4 separate regions of the Homo sapiens genome follow, and regions 1, 2 and 3 are each linked to region 4. Evidence: promoter capture Hi-C in 16 types of primary human blood cells and fetal thymus (Javierre and others, 2016). All regions are on one chromosome and are shown on one strand. Each heading gives the region's core, a stretch centred on a gene start or on the middle of the fragment in contact. The rest is flanking DNA. Distances are from core to core; before and after follow the strand shown. Region 1 overlaps IL1R2 (interleukin 1 receptor type 2). Region 2 has its middle 42 kb from the start of IL1R1. Region 3 has its middle 38 kb from the start of IL1R2. Region 4 holds the start of SLC9A4 (solute carrier family 9 member A4).

Region 1 (2,790 bases), core at 171-2,670, 460 kb before region 4:
CCTGGCAGGATGGAGGCTTGTGAGGGTCTTCAGTCATGATCCGGATCTCAGAATCCAGTGTACAAAATACAAATCCAGTGAATCCACATTGCATCCCGTTTGCTGTTCCTGACACCCCCCCCAACCCTACAGTCTCATTCTGTCTCCATTTAGTCTTTGCTCAAATGCCACCTCTTTGGAGACAACGTCCCTAGCCATTTTAGCTGACACCGCCCTCTGTCACTCTCTCCTTACCCTGCTGTAGTTTCCTTGCGATAAGATTTTCCCATCTGACACATTTGTGTGCGCTACTGTATTTAATGTTTGTCTACCCATTAGAATGTAAACTCTGCAAGGGCAGGGACTTGGTCTATGTTGTTCACTGTTGAAGCCACATGGTAAGGAACCAAGAAATAGACATAGAATAGGATTTTACTCTGAATAGGATTTTAGAGCTGGGTGAGACCTTAGGATTAAATTAGTCCAACACTTTGGGCGGCCGAAGAGGGTGGATCACGAGGTCAGGAGATCACGACCATCCTGGCTAACACAGTGAAACCCCGTCTCTACTAAAAAAATACAAAAAAATTAGCTGGGCATGGTGGCGGGCGCCTGTAGTCCCAGCTACTCAGGAGGCTGAGGCAGGAGAATGGCGTGAACCCAGGAGATGGAGCTTGCAGTGAGCGGAGATCGAGCCACTGCGCTCCAGGCTGGGCGACTGAGCGAGACTCTGTCTAAAAAAAAAAAAAAAAAAAATTAGTCCAACTGCTCGTTGTAAGGATGAGGGAACCAAGCTGGCTTGGAAAGTTCCCCAGGTGGTGCGTGGTAGAGCTGACTCTGGAGCCCGAGTCTCCTGACCCTGGGTCCAGTCCTCCTCCCTCTTTGTCCTGTTGCTTTCTTCCCCTTTAACTGTAGAAAAAATACACATAACAAAAAATTTATCATCTTAAACAGTTTTTAGTGTACAGATCAGTGGCACCATCACCATTATCCATCTTTAGGAGTTTTTCATCCTCACAAACTGAAACTCTGAACCCATTAAACAATAACTCCCCTCTCTTCTTCCCTCCAGCCTCAGGCAACCACCACTGTACTTTCCGACTCTATGATTTTGACGACTCTAGGTACCTCGTTTAAATCGTTTAAGTGAAATCAGTCTTTCTGTGACTGAATTATTTCACTTAGCATAGTGTTTTCAAGGTTCGTTCATGTTGTAGCATGAGTCAGAGTTTCCTTCCTTTATGAGGTGGAATATTATTATTCCGTTTTATGTATGTACCACATTTTGTTTATCTATTTATCCATCCAGGGACACTTGACTTGCTTCCTCCTTTCAGCTATTGTGAATCCAATATGAACATGGATGTGAAGATATCTGTTCAAATCTCTGCTTTCAGTTCTTCTGGGTATAGACCCCAAAGAGGAACTGCTGGATCATCTGTTAATTCTATATTTAATTTTGAGGAACTATCATACTGTTTTCCATAGTGGCTGTACCATTTTTCATTCCCAACAACAGTGCCGACACTCAATTTCTCTACATACTCACCAACACATGTTATTTTCTATTATTTTTGATAATAATCATCCTAATGGGTGTGAAGGGGTCTCTCATTGTGGCTTTGATTTCCACGTTCCTAATGATTAGCGATGCTGAGCATCTTTTTGTGTGCTTATTAACCATCTGTGCATCTTCGCTGGAGACACAGACATATCTCCTTTATGGACTCTAAGTCCTTTGCCCATTTTAAAAACTGCATTTTGCTGTTGTTGTTGAGTTGTAGGAGTTCTTTACATTTCCTGGTTATTAACCCCTTGCCTTATCAGATATATAGTTAGAAATATTTTCTCCTGTTCTCTAAGTTGCATATTCATTCTGTTCATAGTGTCATTTGTTACACAAAAGGTTTTAATTTTGATCAAGTCCAGTTTATCTATTTTTTTCTTTTGTTGCCTGTGCTTTTAGTGTTAAGAAATCATTGCCCAATCCAATGTCATGAAGGTTTTCCCCTTTGTTTTCTTCTAAGAATTTTATAGTTTTAGCTCTTTTGCTTTTTGATCCATTTTGAGTTAATTTTTGTATATGGTGTTAGGTAAGGGTCCTGCTTCATTCTTTTGCATGTGGATATCCATTTTCTCCAGTACTATTTGCTGAAAAGACTGTCCTTTCCCCATTGAATGGTCTTGACATGTCCTACTCCTTCTTGATGGATGAAGTTTTAGGCCTAGTGTTGGTGATCTTAAAAAGTTTCTTGGCTTCGTTCTTCTGAACTAGGACAACCCTCAGCTTGATTGGGAACTAGTGTTTTGGCCTCTCTCTTCAGCTGCTTCATCTGTTCCTCCAATAAAAACTTCCTTGGCTTTGTTCTTCTGAACTAAGACAACCTTTGGCTTGATTGGGAACTAGTGTTTTGGCCTCTCTCTTCAGCTGCTTCTTCTGTTCCTCCAAAGGCACTGCTTGCTCCTTCCACCAGCTGGCTTCAGAGTCTCCAGATTTCATAAACTCATTTGACTTAAGAAGGACTGTACCCAGGAATATGTACATTTAGAAAAAGAACCGGAGAAGTGAGATTCTTAGCACAGTGGAAGTACTGGTGAATGGAAAAATTTCAGACCACGTCATCCCCAGTCCTAGGCTGGGTGTGTGTGTGGCAGGGTATGTGGGGGGTGGGAGGAGATATGAGGTAGAGGGTGCCCTCTGTGTGTGTGTGTGTGTGTGCATGTGCGTGCATGTGTGAAATTAAGAATCTTTTCAAATTAAACCCAGCTTGACACTACCATCCATATGTCTAGCCCCAACTATAAGCAATT
Region 2 (2,851 bases), core at 293-2,792, 370 kb before region 4:
TACACTTCCACCAGGGCAACTACAGCCTCCTACCACACATCATTCACTGTGGACGTCTTAGTCAGTCAAGACTCTGGCATTTGTTTGGTTTTGTTTTCCACCAGTGCTTTGCTTTTTCATATGCCCTGTCCTGTACTTAACAATATGAGGTTAGGGAACTAAGAATGGGATTTTAGATTTGTCTGTGTTAAGTCTCACTATGTTAGATTTGGCCTATGGTTCTATCTTAATGGCGTCTTTTGGGACCCTGATTTGCTCTCTCAGTGAATTCACAGTTCATTTTAACTCCAGGACTCCCAGAATGTGGTAAGCTTGCCTGCTCTGCCCTTCTGCTGTAGAAACCTGTTCTGCACCTCCCAGCTCCCTCCCCAACCCCTGGCTTGGCCTCGAGGCATTCTCCTTTCCTGCATTCAAGGCCTCCAGGAATATTACCACACACCATCTGCACATCGTCGGGTTCTTTTGGCCAATGCCAATTTGATAAATTTTTTTGGCTTCAGTGTCCAGTTCTGCTTTCTAAACTTGTATTTGCTTCCTTTGGAAAATGTATTCCTTCTTTCTACCCTCCCTCCTTTCCTGCATTCCTCTGCTCTGTACTCTCCACAATTGAAGAGTGCCATGACCATGTCCATGCCCAGCCTGGCTGCCTCTTTTCTGGGAGGAGAGGTCAGCTCCACACCTGAGAGCCAGGATGGAACCAAATACCTGGAACTGAGCCTGAGGCTTTCCAGTAGAGCATACTCTTCTAATTGACTCATTTACCATTGAGTATGGGTGTTTATACATGTATCCAACTCTACTAACCATATTCTTTGTTTTGCTCACAAGACAGATGTTTGCAGATACTTACATGAAATTCTGATTCACTAAGTTCACAGCATTTAACTGTGGTAATCTCACCATCTAACAACCTCATCAAACAAAAGATTGCATGAGCTTCACCAGACCTGGCCTGTTTTTAGTCATTTCATGCTTTCTCTTGGTGATCGTGGCTTCCTTAAGTGCTGAAAGACTATCCCTGTAATCATTCATCTAGAATCTTTCCCATTCCTTCATCTGTGCTTGCAAAATCCCTTAAACTCAGTAATGGGTGTGGAAGCTGTCTGTCTGGAGGTATGAAGAATTAAGGGATGGCATTCTCCCCGGAGGTTTGATAGAAAGCTGGACACAGTGCGGTCTGGAAGAGTCATGGGGATGATACGAATTGTTCATGTATCATTGCCTGGAATAGGAGTATGATAAGCAGCCAGGCACTCAAGTCAGATCCTTAGGGCCTGACCACAAAGGTTACCAGTGGCCATCGGGGATGGCATGGTTAATTCTCTAGTGTAAAGAGACAAAGGTTAAACTAACAGAATGTGTCACACTGGAAAGCATTTTGGAGATCAGGTCAATTAGCACTCCCTGTGTTACTGTCCACACAAGTCACCCAGAAAGCTTAGTCAAATATAGATTTGAATTCAGTGGTTCTGGGGTGGGCCCTAATGTTCTGCATTTCCATCGTGCTCCTTGGTGATGCTCTTGGCTTATGGGCCACACTTTGTGTCCCAAGAGTTTAGACTATACTGTTTTGTTTTGTTTTTTCAGATGTAGAAACTGAGATCCAGTGAGATGAAGTGATTTTCCCAAAGATACATAGATGAAGTTGAAGCTTAGCTCTTTAACCCAGGTCTGCTGGCGTCCAGGTTGGTGTCTCTCTAATTATAGAATTGCTGGACTTAGGAAAGCAGAAGTCTCCTGCCCTCTCTTAATGACCCATAGCATGTTGAGGGGGAGCCAAGGTTAGATTCTAGGGTTGCACATACTTGCACAAACATGCACACACATACACACATGCTCATGCACACACATGCACACACATACTGTACGTGCTTCTTCCTATTCTCCTTTTTCAATTGGGAGGTATAAGAAACACATGGATTACAGCCACATTAAAGATATTCATAAATGCAAATCAATTCTGAATGTGTAAACTTTTCCATAAGAATATTCTGGGAAAATACTTGAGTTATTTCTGACCTTTTATGTATAAACACAGACATTCTGGAGTTTGTCAAAGACCATGTTACTGATAAAATTGTGTTAGAATGACGTCTTCTGATAGTTTAAATGTTAAAAGCTCTGGGCTCGGCTCAGGGAATTCTATACTTTAGCATTCATAAAGGACCCTAGAGTTTGAGAGATTATCCATTAACTTCTGATATTGAATTTTTGTTGCCAACTATGACTATTTGTTTTCCCTGAACTCTGTAGGGGAACAACACAGCTGACAAAACCCAGGCAAAAGCGTGTGTGTGGGTGCGTGTGGGTGCATGTGTGTGGCGTGTGTGTTCACACAGGTTAACTAAACAGTGCAGATTCCTCCAATTTTTCTCCTTTTTGAGAAGTAGGAAGGAGCAAGAGAGAAGAAATCATCTGGAGTGGAAAAGAGGGCTGGAAAAGTCCTTGAACTAATAATCTGCCAATTAATCCAGCTGCTTGGAAATAGCCTGGAATTGGAAGGTCTTTTGGGTGCTCTCTGGAAAGGGTACCAGGAAGTATGAGACAATGGCTGCTAGGAACTTGCACTGTTCCTGAGTAGATAAGACCTGTTGTCAAGTAAATTGCGGTGGATCCCTGGTAACACTTGAAGAGCAATGCAAGCCTGGGCTCCACCTGGGCTCTACCCCTGCCTGACTAAGGGAGCTTGGGGAAAGTATTTACATAATCTCAATCAGTTTTCTCACCTGTAAAATGGGCCTAAAGAATTTAAATTTCCATGCAAGTCAAAACCATAATGAGATATCATCTCACACCAGTCAAAATGGCTATTACTAAAAAGTCAAAAAATAAGAGATGCCAACAAGGTTGC
Region 3 (2,806 bases), core at 33-2,532, 440 kb before region 4:
CTCTTAGGCCTGCATGAGAGTGGAAAACATCTACATGAGTTTTGACATTCATTCAACAAAAACATATTATGAGTCTATTTTGACTAGACTCTATGGGAGATGTTGTACATACAGTGATGGTTAAGACATAGTTTGCCTTTCAGGAAGCTGGTTGTTCATTTTGAGACTGAAAAGAATAATTTAGTGCTAAAGCAGAAGAATCAGCAAGAATTGGTGAACTTTTTTGGAAAGGGCTATCCAAAAAATAGCAATTAAAAATACACACATTGGAATGTATTAGTGAACTGAGAATTAGACCCAACTTCATAACAACATGTCTGAAAATAGAAGGAAGGGCATTAAAAGAATTGTAGACAAACTGAATAAAATGTACCCAGAGCCTCTTTCATATCATATACCAAAAATAAAATCCAGATAGATAAATGAGTTCAATTAAAAAAAAAAAAACTCCAATGGCAGGAAAATCAGCACGGCTGGTGACTCCACCTTTCAGGTCTCTGTTCAAATGTGACCTTCCCAGAGGGAAGGTCCCCAGAGAGGACCTTCCTTCCTCTCTGTCCCCTCACCCTGCTTTGTACCATTGTAGCTTTTATCACCACCAGACCTTCCAGTATAGATTTGCTTGTTGATTTTCAATTTATGTTTCCCACCCAAATGGAAGACCCATGAGGTCAGAGAGATTATTTTGGTCCCAGCTGTATTTCCAGTACCTCAAAGCAGGCATTTAATGAATATTTGCAGAATAAATGAAGATGGGATGAACTCTCTCTTGTTCATTACCAAAAGACTTGCAAGAGTAAAGGTGAGTAGGCTTAATTACATTATAATTTCTGCACAACAAAATAACAAAAGCAAGGTTTAGACAAAATTGTGTCAGACAAGTTCAAGGAATGAGTAACTATCATGTGTAGAGTTATTCAAAGTCATAGAAAAGGCATGTGTCTTAGTCTTTTTGGGCTGCTACAACAAAATACCATAACTAGGGTGGCTTGTAAACAACAGAAATTTATTTCTCACAGTTTTGGAGGTTGAGAAGTCCAAGATCAAGGTGCGAGCAGATTTGGTGTCTGGTGAGGGCCCACTTCCTGGCTAATAGACGGCAGCCCTCCTGACTTAATCACCTCCCAAGGGCCACAACTCCTAATACCATTGTATTGGAGGTTAGGGTTTCAACATATGAATTTTGGGAGGACACAAACATTCAGTTTATAGTAGCATCATCACCCTACAGATGAAAAAATGTGAGTAGGGGATTGCAGAAGAGACACACATAAAGGAACTCATGGAAAAATGACACTTTCAGTAAGAACCAGGGGATGTAAATTAGAGCAAATTTGAGATACCAGTGCACTCACACACTATCAAGTGTTTAAAAGTTTTTATGAAACACTCTCACACTTTAATTCAATTTATAATTTGGTGCTGGGAAGAAGAAAGGCAACATGAGCCAAGTCAGTTGGGTGCTGGACCAGCTTGCATCTTCTTGCAAGAGCCCAGGATGTGCCTCTCTTCTTGGCTCTGTTCAGTGATGTCATGTTGGTAGCTTAAAATCTGTGGCCATTGTGGAGTCTTTACACCACAGAAATTGGCAGTTGCCACAAATCAGCACTCTCTTCCCCAGTACATAACAACAAGGTTTGAGAGATGCCCAGTGATACTACTCCTGGGAATTTAGCTTAGGAAATAATTTAATAAAATAAAATCATTAGAGATATAAAATAATTTAATAAAACTTATTACCCCAATGATGAAAAATTATGCAGCAATTATCAATTATAATGATCAATACTATAATGACCAAATTATCAAAATTGTAAGACTTAAATGTTTACAGTGTTAAGGAAATATTATACATTGTTTTGTACAATTTTTATGGTTACAATATTGACATTTGTTTGCATCTAGACAAGGAGAAAACTTAAAAACTTGGACTTTGAAGGCAGACTTTGTGAGTTCAAGTTCAAGCACTGCCACATGGTGCCTCTGTGATCTTGGGCAAATCCTTTAATCTCAAAGTACATCAATTTTCTCATCTGAAAAATGGGGATAATCACTTAGTCCAAATTAACTTAGCTATTTAGCTATATTTTATATTTCCATTTTTCCTATTTTTCTATTTCAACTATAGTAACTGTTTAATAATCAAAAACATAGGAGGAATAGACAGAAATAAAAATTGTTGTACTTGGACTACGTGTTGACAAACCACAGCCTGTGGGCCAAATGCAGCCTGCCCTCTGTTTCTGTGGATTAAGAGTATTAGGAAACAGCCTTGCCTGTTTGTTTGCAGACTGTCTTTGGCCACTTTTGCTCTTTGAAGATAGAGTTGAGTAGTTGAGATGGCAAAACCTAGAATATTTACTATTTGGTCGTTTACAGGAAAAGTTTGCCAATGCCTGGTTTAGGTGAAGGCGGTTTTGAGCAGTTAACTTTTGACCCTCGCTTTTCTATTTTCCTGTTATCATCTCCTCTTTCCTTCTTCTGTTTTCTAAGCATTCAGGGAGGGAGAAGTACGGAGGGGCCGGCAGAGGCCTTTGAACACCTTATTAGATTTTAACCGGAAAGGAGAGGAGAGTGAGGTTTGAGAAGGAGGATTCGGTGAGGACGTTGCACAGGGTTCTTTGACTGCTTCTGCCTTTTCTTTATCTTCAGGCTTGGGGCCACGCGCTTGCATCTCTCTTCCTTCCTCGAACTTCTCCAGTGCTCTCTGGAGTCCCCCGCTTTAGATTCTGGCTGTTTCAGCAATGACCCAGAAAAGGAGCTGACTGCAGCCGGAGGAGAACCACCATCGGCTTTCAGACTCTGC
Region 4 (2,762 bases), core at 153-2,652:
TCTGAGTACATAAGTCTTTTGATTCTTCATTTTGGTCTTTCCACAAGGCACTATGTGAGACTTGCTCCCTCATTTCTTTTTAGAAAGAAAAGTACAATAAAATGCAAATAAAAATAAAACACCTATTATAAAGCAGCTTTCTATTAAAGGATATTCATATATTCTTTGAGAAAAAATAATCGACTCAATATGTGTACCCTTCTTGTAGTCCACCTGATAGTCTCATTTCAGTGACTGAATCTAATCTATTCTGGAGTCAAACTGAAGGAAAAAGAAAAAATATTCATATGTGAACTTTTAATTCTATTGCCTCACTATGAATTTGCATCTAGGTGTTAGCCCTTCTCAACCATTCCTTTCTCAATTTCCCAGTGATGTTAGCTGAGTGTGTGTGTGTGTGTGTGTGTGTGTGTGTGTGTGTGTGTGTGTGTGTTGGCTGGGGGGAAATCCCCTGCACTCACTAATATGAACTAAGAAAAAACAAAACACAAAGCATCTTGCAGTTTGATGTAAAAGAGATGTTGGGGTAGTATATGGATGATGTATTATTCTCATTTTTTACTGAGTATCAGTAATCATTGCAAAAGTGTTGTATCTTATCCTAAAAGTATAAGAAATGTAATTTAAAATAAAAACTAACATTTAAGTGCCAACTACATGCCAAATTCTTTACTTGCTTTATCTCATTTAATGTTCCTAGCTACTCAATGAGGCAGATATTTTCCTCTCTGTTTCAGATAAGGAATTTCTGAAAGGTAATTAACTTCACCAAGGTCACCTGGCAACAAGTAGAAGAGCGAGAAGTAGGCTCATAAAAATTATCTCAAAATTCTTTCATCAACATTCTATGATGCTGCTTCTTTTTAACAACAACAAATGTTTTTTAAATGGAAAATCTGGATGTGCCATGGAGTTTTACAAATCCAGGTATTTAGGTGTATTTATGGAACTTGTTCTTTGGCTTCCTGTTTTTTAAAAATTATAGTGTAAAGTTCATAGAGATCTGGAACTTCATTCCTTCTATGAATGACTGCTCATGGAGTCTGGTAACATGCAAAAGTTTCAGTGTTTGCTACCATCCTTGTTGTTACCACCTCCTTCTTATCCTCCTTCTTCCTCATGTATAGAGACCATATAAGACAGTTTGCTGGACAATTCTGGTTTGTGCCTATAGCTTTGCATAATTATCATTATTATTCATTCCCCAAAGTGTCCTGGTTTAGATAATTTCATGGTCACCTTAACGTTCATAACTGAAAGTGTCAAGGGTGTTGTATTGCAGGTGCCCACTAGGTGTCAGCAGTGTGACCTCCAGAGAACCCTCAGAGAAAGGATTTCATTACAAAAGTCAAATCAAAGCAAATAATTAAGTGTAGTTCCAGAGCTACCTGAAGCCGTGGTCATTCAAAACAAATGAGAGGACAGGGGGAGGAGAGAAGGAACAAGCGCAGATCAGGTAGCTCCTTCTTGGGATCTGATAGACAGGGAAGGTTTCCTTTCCTCATTAGAAGGACTCCAGTGATCTGTGGAATGAGCACTACAGTATCCTTTTAAATTTTCACCCACAAGACAAAGCCAGTATGCAGTGAAATGAGGAAATGCCTTTAAGTGAAGAGATTTTTATTTCTTTCATAAATTGCTCAAGCCATGATTGGATGGAGGTCCTCCAGGTAGCTCCATGGACTTTAACAAGTCTATTGAATAACTGCATTTGAGTTGGAAGCTGAGTTGCCTGAACACAAACGATTTAAACCAGATTAGAAAGTGTCTACATACAGAGCTCAATAACACACTCGGAATCTTCTTGGGAGGACCCACAGACTGTACCTATATTACTTTTGACCCAGGTGGATGCAGTCACTCTCTAGAAGCCTCCCCGACTTCAGATGTGTGGCACACATCCACACAGGGGTGTAGGTAGGAGAAGCCCACAGGAATGGCTCTGCAGATGTTCGTGACTTACAGTCCTTGGAATTGTTTGCTACTGCTAGTGGCTCTTGAGTGTTCTGAAGCATCTTCTGATTTGAATGAATCTGCAAATTCCACTGCTCAGTATGCATCTAACGCTTGGTTTGCTGCTGCCAGCTCAGAGCCAGAGGAAGGGATATCTGTTTTTGAACTGGATTATGACTATGTGCAAATTCCTTATGAGGTCACTCTCTGGATACTTCTAGCATCCCTTGCAAAAATAGGTAAGTCCTTAAACACCTGGTTTGGTGAGTTATCTTTTTACATAAGATAGTGAATGTGAAAATGCCTTATAGATAACGGGCTAAGAGGATTTTAACTGTTACTGCTATTACATTAAAAATTCTCTTCCCTTCAGTCAAGGGAAAGTCATAACTGCATTTTACTAAGCTATTTAATACTTTGAGATTGCTCTTTGAAATTTGAGAGCATACTTCTGGGTACTGGGCTGTGTTGGTTTCTTCTCATTTCAGGGTGACAACCATGTGACATTGTTGACATGCAAAACTCTCAAATTCTATGCTTTAAAAATATAGAGAATAAAGCACGTAGACCTGGGCATGATGCAAGGTGGAAATTTCAGGAAACACATAATGTTTCTTCTGTAAAATATTCTTGGCTGTGTAATTGTGGGCTTCATCAATCACCCCATTGTTTATTCTTTAAAAGTAGCGTGTGCTTCTTGCAAATTGACAGAAAGCAAAAAACAAGAAAACCATAGGCAACTTGTATTACTCAGTGATGGGATGTCGGGGCATATAAGATTATATCTGTCAGTAAAATATTAGTTTATA

What was found. The method cuts DNA at HindIII sites, captures the fragments that hold promoters and counts their contacts. A CHiCAGO score of 5 or more calls a contact.
Region 1: a contact is called between a fragment that was not itself captured here and the fragment with the promoter of SLC9A4 in region 4, in 7 of 17 cell types (non-activated CD4 T cells, naive CD8 T cells, activated CD4 T cells and 4 more). The highest score is 11.1, in non-activated CD4 T cells.
Region 2: a contact is called between a fragment that was not itself captured here and the fragment with the promoter of SLC9A4 in region 4, in 1 of 17 cell types (non-activated CD4 T cells). The highest score is 5.6, in non-activated CD4 T cells.
Region 3: a contact is called between a fragment that was not itself captured here and the fragment with the promoter of SLC9A4 in region 4, in 7 of 17 cell types (naive CD4 T cells, non-activated CD4 T cells, naive CD8 T cells and 4 more). The highest score is 9.5, in naive CD4 T cells.

The regions. Positions count from the first base shown.
Region 1 is chr2:102,009,860-102,012,649 of GRCh38, forward strand. All of the region lies in intron 3 of IL1R2 (interleukin 1 receptor type 2), which reads left to right. Among named protein-coding and RNA genes, the nearest start is that of IL1R2, 19 kb to the left of the region's middle. The HindIII fragment of the contact is 5,709 bases long and covers 1-2,790 here.
Region 2 is chr2:102,099,677-102,102,527 of GRCh38, forward strand. It overlaps a transcript of IL1R1 not described here. Among named protein-coding and RNA genes, the nearest start is that of IL1R1, 42 kb to the right of the region's middle. The HindIII fragment of the contact is 214 bases long and covers 1,436-1,649 here.
Region 3 is chr2:102,028,651-102,031,456 of GRCh38, forward strand. No RefSeq gene overlaps it. Among named protein-coding and RNA genes, the nearest start is that of IL1R2, 38 kb to the left of the region's middle. The HindIII fragment of the contact is 7,742 bases long and covers 1-2,806 here.
Region 4 is chr2:102,471,824-102,474,585 of GRCh38, forward strand. It overlaps SLC9A4 (solute carrier family 9 member A4), which reads left to right and starts at 1,403. Exons shown (of 12, transcript NM_001011552.4): 1 at 1,403-2,192. The coding sequence starts at 1,937. The HindIII fragment of the contact is 5,984 bases long and covers 1-2,762 here.